Linked DNA regions of Homo sapiens: regions 1 and 2 are each linked to region 3. The links are contacts of gene promoters, found by promoter capture Hi-C in blood cells and fetal thymus (Javierre and others, 2016). All regions are on one chromosome and are shown on one strand. Each heading gives the region's core, a stretch centred on a gene start or on the middle of the fragment in contact. The rest is flanking DNA. Distances are from core to core; before and after follow the strand shown. Region 1 overlaps SYN3 (synapsin III). Region 2 overlaps SYN3 (synapsin III). Region 3 holds the start of TIMP3 (TIMP metallopeptidase inhibitor 3).

Region 1 (2,729 bases), core at 27-2,526, 100 kb after region 3:
TGAGCTTCTTGGGTTTAAAATTTCCATTGTTTGGAAACATTTTTTTCATTAATATTTTCATAATTTTTTCTGTACTCCCCTCTCTTCTTCTGGGATTCCAATAACACATAATGTCAGACTGTTTGCTATTGTTCCACAGCTCACTGCGGCACTGTTTGTTTTGTTTTGTTTTTCTGTGCTTTATATTGGGTAGATTCTATTGCTACAGCTTCAACTTCAGTTGTCTTCTATAGTATATAATTTGCATTTAATTTCACTTAAATGTATTTTTCATTTCAGATATTATATGTTTTATCTCTATAAATTCTATGAGCATCCTTTTACATCTTTAACCTCTTTCTTCATCAGCTTCATGTTTTTCTTTATATCCTTGGACATATTTGTAAGACTTAATAGCAGCTTTTTAATGGTCCTTGTCTACAAATTCAACCTTCTTATAATTTCTTGATCTGATTCTGTTGATTCATTTTTCTCCTGGTTATGGGTTATATTTTTCTGCTTTCTTACATACCTGGTAATTTTTTACTGGATGCTGGGTATTGTGATTTTTATGTTCTTAGGTGGTGGATTTTGTTGTGTGTATTTCAAGAATACTAGATTTTGTTCTGATGAGCAGTTAAGTAATTGCATCAGTGGGAGGGCAGTTTCTGTAACAGCTAATTATTCATGGATGGAATCACAAGTCCTCATTGAAGCTTTTTAAGCAAGAGTGTGACTCAATCAACTGTGTGTGTTTCTTTAAAAATCAGTCTTATTATTACTCTGCAGAGAACAGATTAGAAACAACAGTGGATTCTAGAAGGCTAATTCTGAGTCTGTTGAGAAAAGTGATCATGTTGACTTGCTTTCAGGGAAGCAGCAGTTAAGATGGGGCATATTTAAAATATGTTTAGAATTTATAGGACTTAGGGATTGATTGAATGAATATGAGGAGTTAACGAGGGAGAAGTAGTTATCGAGGATGATTCCCATTTCTGGAATGAGCAACTGAGTAAATGATGGTGTCACTTATTCTAACAGAACAGTGGAAATTTGGGGTGAAAAACCATGAGATCTGTTTTGAAGATGCGTTACCTATGAGACATCCAAGTGGTTGATGTTAGGCAGGCTGCTGGTCTGAAGTTCAATACAGAAATCTGGGCTGAGGCTGCTTCCTATTACATGGTGTTTAAAGCTATTTTTCATTTACAGCCTAGAAGCACTGGCCATATGAGTGCTTGTCTAATCCCCTAGAATTGTGAGGTCTTAGAGGGCTGGCTTGATGTGTTTTCCTCTTGTGTTGGCTGATGCATTGGTTGGCACGTGACCGGTGCTTAGTGAGTGTTTATGAAAGGGACAATAGCTGTTGGGGACTCCTTTTTTCATGTTTCTGAGTTTCCCCTTGCCTCCTGGTTGTCTAAAATGTTGCCTTAAATTTCATTGTTCTTGTTTGTTTTTCTAGTCCAGGCAGACTTTTCAAATTAGCATGTTAGTCATTTGTGGAGGGTCATGACCCTCCCTTGTTTACAATAGGGCCGTATTATGTCAGCTCAGAGATCCTATCCTGGAGCTGGAGTTGGGACCAGATAATGCAGGAGCCACATCCCTTCCAGGGAGGCTGCTGTCCAAGGCTTGGGCTACTTGGGCAAAATCTCTCAGATTCCCAAGGGATACTTTAAGCCTGTGGAATTTCACAGACTTCACATGAGCTTAAGACTCTTATAGTCTCCATAGTCAATCCCTGAGTTAACCTGAAAGTTGCCCAAAGGAGGGAGGAGTCAAGCCTATTTTAAAAAGAGGAAGCATCTGAAAGCCTTGGAATTCAGAGACCGTATACAAAATTTCAGGCAGAAATTTTCGATTGTTGGAACAAGCTTTGTTCTAGGAGCAGAGAACCTGAGTTCCGGGCCTGAGATTCATTGTATAATATTGAGAGAACAACTTCCCTTCTCTGGTCCCATTATCCCCCATCTAAAACTAAGAAGATTGGATTCGATGACCTCAAAGTGCTCTTCTATTTATTACATTCAGAGGAATTCTATGTCCTGGGCGGTATGAGTCATAGACCTTGCCTCAAGGTGCTTAAAATTCTAGAACTGAGATGAGAGGTAGACTCTGATATTCCCATTAAGACAGACACCCTGTTTCCTACAAATGCACTTGTATACAAATCTCTCTAGAGGAGAGGCCCTGTAGATGAAAAACAGAATCTTACTTTGGACTTCACAAGTAAAACAGCTTTTAGAATTTTACAGCTTTATCCAGAAATGAATCTTGTATCTTTTTTGTCTATCCTCATCTTTTGAAGGTAAACAAATTGGGCCCCGAGAGCAATGTGACTTGGTCAAGGTCACACAGTGAGTCCATGGTAGAGCCTAACTCAGCACCTACCCCCATCCCTGCACACACACCACCCTAAATCTCATCAAAACTGTTTCTCCACCACTCTCTCCCTTTTGGCACCACCTCCTGTCTCTGCAAGCTCTGCTGTCTCTGCAGTGGAACATTCCTGCACAGAGGGGATTAAAAGAGCAGGGGTGGAATGCTAAGCCTCCCTGCCCATTGGCAAGAGCATTTCTCCTGAACTGAGCCCAGCAGGGTTCAGGGGAGCCCAACGGCCCATGTGGAGGTCTGGGTTGTCAGAACCAACTTCAGCCTACATGCCAGGGGCTGTCCACACCCTGCCCTCCATCACGTAAAGCCCCCCAAAACAAGTACTCCATGGTGGGGGCACTGTGGAGTTTGGGTGT
Region 2 (2,784 bases), core at 243-2,742, 120 kb after region 3:
CCATCATCACTTGCTGTGAGTCACCATCTGGCATTTTATTGGCTGAGCTTCTTGCTCCTCTGCAACCCGCATCACACCTATTTGTCCACTCTTGCATGGATGACCTTCCAGTTCTTGGAGGAAAGACCCTAATGTAGATATTTTCAAGAGCTTGGCTCTTCCAGGAAAAGTGGCCACAGGTGCCTGGCTTCAGGTGCCCTATGCAAATGTTTATTCTTAACGGAATGTGTCACAGCTAGCCTCACCAAGGCACCTTCCAAGGGCATATCTGCTAAATGATAACACATGGGTACCACAGGAGAGCTCTGTCTGGGCTTCTCCAAGAGTTTCTTCGTGTGCCTTTACAAGGGCATGTGCCTACCTGCAGTCCAGGCATCCACCCTATTGGTGAAAAATAACATCACCCAGAATAAATACTGATTCGTCAAACGCTGTGCAATAAAAACCTTCTCTTCTTTCTACTCAAAGCCTCATTTACATCCAGCGATGTCAAACTACTTAAACAACTTAACTCCAATCCAAGTGCTGGGACTAATAAAGATCAGATGGGGTCTAAAGAGATAATGTATATGAAAGCCTAGCACCCTCTGGGTGCTCCGTAAATGCTACTGCCCTTCCTCCCTGGCTTCCAGGGCCTTCCACCCTAGAAGGGGATGAGTCGTCCTACATCTAATTCCTGGGTGACTGCAGTAATCTCCAGACTGGTGTCCCTGCTTCCTCCCTTGCCCTTATCCTTATAGTCTATTCTCAATACAGCAGCCAGAGGCATCTTGCAAAATGTAAGTCAAATCATGTCACTCCTCTGTTCAAGATCCTCAAAAGATCTTGGCTCTCAACCAGTCTCTCAGTCTCTACACGATTGATATTTGGAGCTGGATAATTCTATTTTGTGGGGGCAGACTTGTGCATTGTAGGATGTTTTGCAGAATCCCTGACCTTTGCCTACTAGAGGCCAGTAGCATCCCACCCCCACTCCCAAGTTGTGACAACCAAAAATGTCTCCAGACATTGCCCATATCCCCTGGGGTCAGAATGGCCCCTGGTTGAGAACCACTCCTCTCCACCCTCTGCAACCCCTGCTGCCCCTCATCTCCCGTGCCCTCTCCTCCCTCACTTCACCAAGCTACATCGTCTTTCCCCAATCCCACATGACTAACTCTCTTACCTCTGCTAAGTCTCGGCTCAAACATCACCATCATAATGTGGCTTCGTGACAGCTGTATTTGAAATTGTGTCCACCATCCCATACCTCCAGGACTCTCTATCCCACTTGCCCTGCAGTTCATTTCATACCTCTTTTTACTTTCTAGTACTTCATAACTTGTTTTATCTATTGATCGTTTTTAGTATGTCTCCCACAACTAGAATATAACTATCTACATGCCTTCATGGGCTTTTGTTTGCTATATCCACTAATGTGTTCTGAGTGCTTAGAACACTGCCTGGTGCATAGGAAGTGTTTGCAAAATATTTGTTGAATAAAGTGAGGTACTATTGTGAATGGTGGATTGAGTCAGCAGCTGCAACAGCCAAATAGGGTGGAGAAAGCACTGTCTTCCTGGTCAGGTGAGCTGAAGTCCAGTCTTGCCCTGGTCACATACTGACCAGGAACCTCAGCCTCTCTGAGTCGTGGTTTTCTCATATGGTAAATGGGATCATATGTGTGTTCCATGGCTGTTGAGAAGATTAGAGGACATGTAGGTGAAAGTGTATCTAGAACAAATCCAGGCACAAGGTAAATATCCAGACATTGCCAAATATCCCCTGGGGCCAAAATGGCCCCTGGTTGAGAACCATTCCTCTATACCCTCAAACCTGCCAGGCAAGCCATTTGGCACTATCCCTGACCTTTGTCTACTAACTCGATGCCAGTAGCATCCCACCCCCCACTCCCAAGTTGTAACAACCAAAAATGTCTCCAGACGTTGCCAAATATCCCTGGAGGTCAAAATGGCCCCCTGGTTGAGAACCACTTCTCTACACCCTCTGCAACCCCTGTCGACTCTGCCACCTCATCTCCCATACTCTCTCCTCCCTCACTTCACCAAGCTACATCACCCTTCTTGCCATTCCTTGAGCCTGCCAGGCAAGCTCCCACCTCCCTTATCATGGCAAGTGATATGTGAAACATAGAAAAGATTGATTGTGCTGAGCTTTAAATAAGAAGTAGAATTTAACAAGTGAAGATATGTGGAGAAGGGGAGGAATCACATCTTGCTGAGTTTCACAGCTTTCTTCTAGAGCATAGAAAAAAGTCAGCCCAGCCTGCATTTCTGGAGCTGGGACATTTGATGTTAGCAATAGCCTAGATATATGGAAGGAACCTCAAGAGAGAGGAAAAACTAAGTTTGGAAATCCTTTGATTTTTGACTTTAGATGTTGACTTTGAAATATGCCATGAACATAAAAGAGAGGATAATGAATGGAGTTGGACTTGTAGCTTGGCACTGAAATTTACAACTCTGAACAAATAGGAAATTCTGAATCCAAAGGATGAAACCTACTAGCAAGTTGAGTACACAGGATTGCCTTCTGGAACAGGGAGTCAACCTAGATCTAAGGAGGCTTTGTTGGGCAAACCAGGTAAACCAGTTGGCCAGTCTGTGCAAGCAACGGTGTGAGAGTGCTGTCAGCCAGATCCCATCCCATTCAACAAGGTGTCTTGATTTGAAAAACACACTGAACTAGATGCTGTGGAATACAGACAAAATTAGAGCATGACCTCTGTCCTCAAAGAGTTGACAGTCTTCTGGGGAAGACAAACAAGGGAAAAACAAACAGTAC
Region 3 (2,700 bases), core at 90-2,589:
ACACTCCCAGACAAGCCTCCCAGGATGCTCTCGGGGCCCTCCATACACACTAAGGAGTAGGAGGTCTCTTTACAGGGTCTCTCTACTCAAGACACTAAGTCCAGTCTGGAACTGTCACCGTGATGTGACCCTTGGCAGGTTTGTTCTTTTGGTGACAAATCTGTTTTCCACTACCCATTCTCCCCCTCCCCACACACATTCAAGGGGGAAAAAAATAGCCTTCCTGTGAATTTTCACAGCTATGTGGTGAGTGACCCCTCGCACCTTCTGCTGGCTATCAACACTCTCAAACACAGTGCCTCCAGGGCGTGGGTCAATGCCACAGCTTTCTCCTCATTTTCCCCCTTAAATCCACCCAAACTTGGCAGTCCCAGAAGCTCGGTTAGCGCTTGCCTGGGAAGCCTGCAGCTGGGTTGGGTCTCAGTGAAAAGAATGAATTTCATAGGCGCAGGAGATGATGCAGACTCGGAGTACTCCAAGTTTCTCCTGCAACTTTCCGTGCACATGGCGGGCAACTTTTTTTTTTTTTTTTAACTATTCAATTTCCCAGCACTTTAGTTAGCATTCCAAGTTTTGGGAACCCTTTCCCCACCCTTCTCTTCTAGCCCTTCCTCCGTTAGTAGTGAATGGGGACATTTTCCAGATGTCAAAAGGACCGGTAGGAACCTCACGACCTAAGTTAGGAAAGCAAAGGCGGCCAGGGGCTCCCTCAGCCACTGTGAGTTTCCTCTGCAGGGCATCTTCCCCTCTCAGCTATGCCAGCGCCCCCGCCCAAGGACATCGAGTTTCTCCACTCCGCCCCAACCCCGTCTGCCCCTCTCCTGGGGCAGAGGAAAGGAGTGGGGCTCGCCCTGCCTCCCTAAGCAGCGCTGCAGTCCTGGCTGCAGCGTGGGGCTCGGGCGGGGCACCAGGAGCGCTTACCGATGTCGGAGTTGCAGAAGGCGTCCTGGGGGTGGCTGGGCGAGCATGTGCACGCCTCGGCGCCCCAGTCCCCCAGGCTCCAGCTGCCCAGGAGCACGATGAGCCCGAGCCAAGGGGTCATTGCCGCTGCTGCCGCCGCTGCCGGGGCTGCTGCTCGCCTCTCCAAAGTTGCCGTGCGCGCCGCCGGCGGGGCTGCTGCAGCCCGAGCTCGCTCGCCCGCCGGGCCGTGCGGGGCAACCTTGGCCTCCGGCGCGCTGCCCTCCGAGTGCCCGGCGGGACGGGATGGGGCGCAGCGAGGCTGCCTCGGCGCTGGCGCAGGACTCGGCGGGCGGCCTCCCGGCGAAGGAGCAGGAGCTGGAGGAGCAAGAGGAGGAGGAGAAGCCGTCTGAGCGCCCGCCGCCTGCCTGCTGCCCGCTCTGCGCCGCTGCCTGGGCGGCCGAGTGATATAGCGCTGGGCCCCCGGGGACCCCGCCTCGGGCTGTTGGGGCCCGCCCCCTCAGACCAATGGCAGAGCCGCATTACCTCATCGGCCCTCCAAAAAGGGGGCGGGGCCGGGGGCAAGGGGTAACGGGGCGGGGCCGCCCCCGGATCGTTCAGATCCTTATAGGGAATAATGCCGCCGTGGGCACGCGAGTGGGTGGGCTGGGGCGCGCCCGGGACCGGTGCTTGCCGCTGGGTCCTCGGAGCGGAGCCCTCGTGCCCCTTCTCGTCTGCGCCCTGGCCCCACGCCCACCTGGGCCACTGGGTGTCTCTGACCCAAACCAGAACCAACTAACACCCACCCACCCCAGCAGGACCGCTTCCACAGGTGAGGGGTGGCCATGTCCTAGAGACCTTGACTGTGCTTGGTGGAACCAGCGGGGGAATGCTAACTGCTACCCCTCCAGTTTCTCTGGAGAGAGCAGGCACAGAGGAGAAAGACCCAAACTCTCTCTCTTTCTCTCTCTCTCTGGTTCTTACTCTCTGGGATATGGGAAGCCATCTGCTGTTTGCAGCTGGCTATGATATATGATAGAAGACTGTTTTCTGTGCTCTCCCAGAGCAAACGGGGTTCTGTATTCATTCAACAAACACGGTTCAGGATGCTGGGTTAAGCAACACAAAGCCCTTGCCCCCGTGGACATCCATGAATGCACAGGGTGATTTTCTGTGATGCTAGGGCTATGAAGAAAACAAAACAGAGTTCTGGGTTGGACATGACTGGGGAGGGCCTGCTCTCTCTGCGATAGTAAGGGAAGGGCTCCCTGAAGTGCCATCCTCGCTGAGAAGTGGACAAAGACAAGGATCAGCTCTGGGGCAAGCCACAGGAGAGAGGTACCAGGCAGGGGGAACAGCAAGTGCAAAGACCCTGGGCATGTTTGAAAGACAGAAAGTAGAAAGGCAAGAGGAAGTGGTTCCCTGCCCATGGCTGACAGAGCTCCACCCTTCAGCAAGGGATTTGGGGGTGAGCTGATCCAAAACTGTAGTAAAACCAGGAGAACGATCCAGGATCCTAGACGACTAGCTATAATAGATGATTGCAGATAACTAACACAATTACTATCCTTATTATTGACATCTTGATTCTGCTTTGTATTTTTAAAAGCAGGATTCTGTATCTCACCGTATTATAGCTCTCACAATAATCTTTGTGGGTAGGAAAAGCAAGCACAAGTATCACTCCCACTTTCCAGATGAGGAACCGGCACAGAAAGATGGGATGATTGGTGGCCAGCCAGGAACTCGTCACCCCTTTCCACTGCTCCTTCCCATCTGAAGAGAGACATGCATTTCCCTGAA

The links. The method cuts DNA at HindIII sites, captures the fragments that hold promoters and counts their contacts. A CHiCAGO score of 5 or more calls a contact.
Region 1: a fragment that was not itself captured here is called in contact with the fragment with the promoter of TIMP3 in region 3 in 3 of 17 cell types (M2 macrophages, monocytes and M0 macrophages); the score reaches 6.8 in M2 macrophages.
Region 2: a contact is called between a fragment that was not itself captured here and the fragment with the promoter of TIMP3 in region 3, in 4 of 17 cell types (monocytes, megakaryocytes, M2 macrophages and 1 more). The highest score is 10.1, in monocytes.

What each region holds. Positions count from the first base shown.
Region 1 is chr22:32,699,183-32,701,911 of GRCh38, reverse strand. The region is part of intron 6 of SYN3 (synapsin III); the gene reads left to right. Among named protein-coding and RNA genes, the nearest start is that of TIMP3, 100 kb to the left of the region's middle. The HindIII fragment of the contact is 1,158 bases long and covers 698-1,855 here.
Region 2 is chr22:32,680,370-32,683,153 of GRCh38, reverse strand. The region is part of intron 6 of SYN3 (synapsin III); the gene reads left to right. Among named protein-coding and RNA genes, the nearest start is that of SYN3-AS1, 110 kb to the right of the region's middle. The HindIII fragment of the contact is 9,004 bases long and covers 1-2,784 here.
Region 3 is chr22:32,800,344-32,803,043 of GRCh38, reverse strand. TIMP3 (TIMP metallopeptidase inhibitor 3) reads right to left here and starts at 1,339. Exons shown (of 5, transcript NM_000362.5): 1 at 922-1,339. The coding sequence starts at 1,042. The region is part of intron 6 of SYN3 (synapsin III); the gene reads left to right. The HindIII fragment of the contact is 16,798 bases long and covers 1-2,700 here.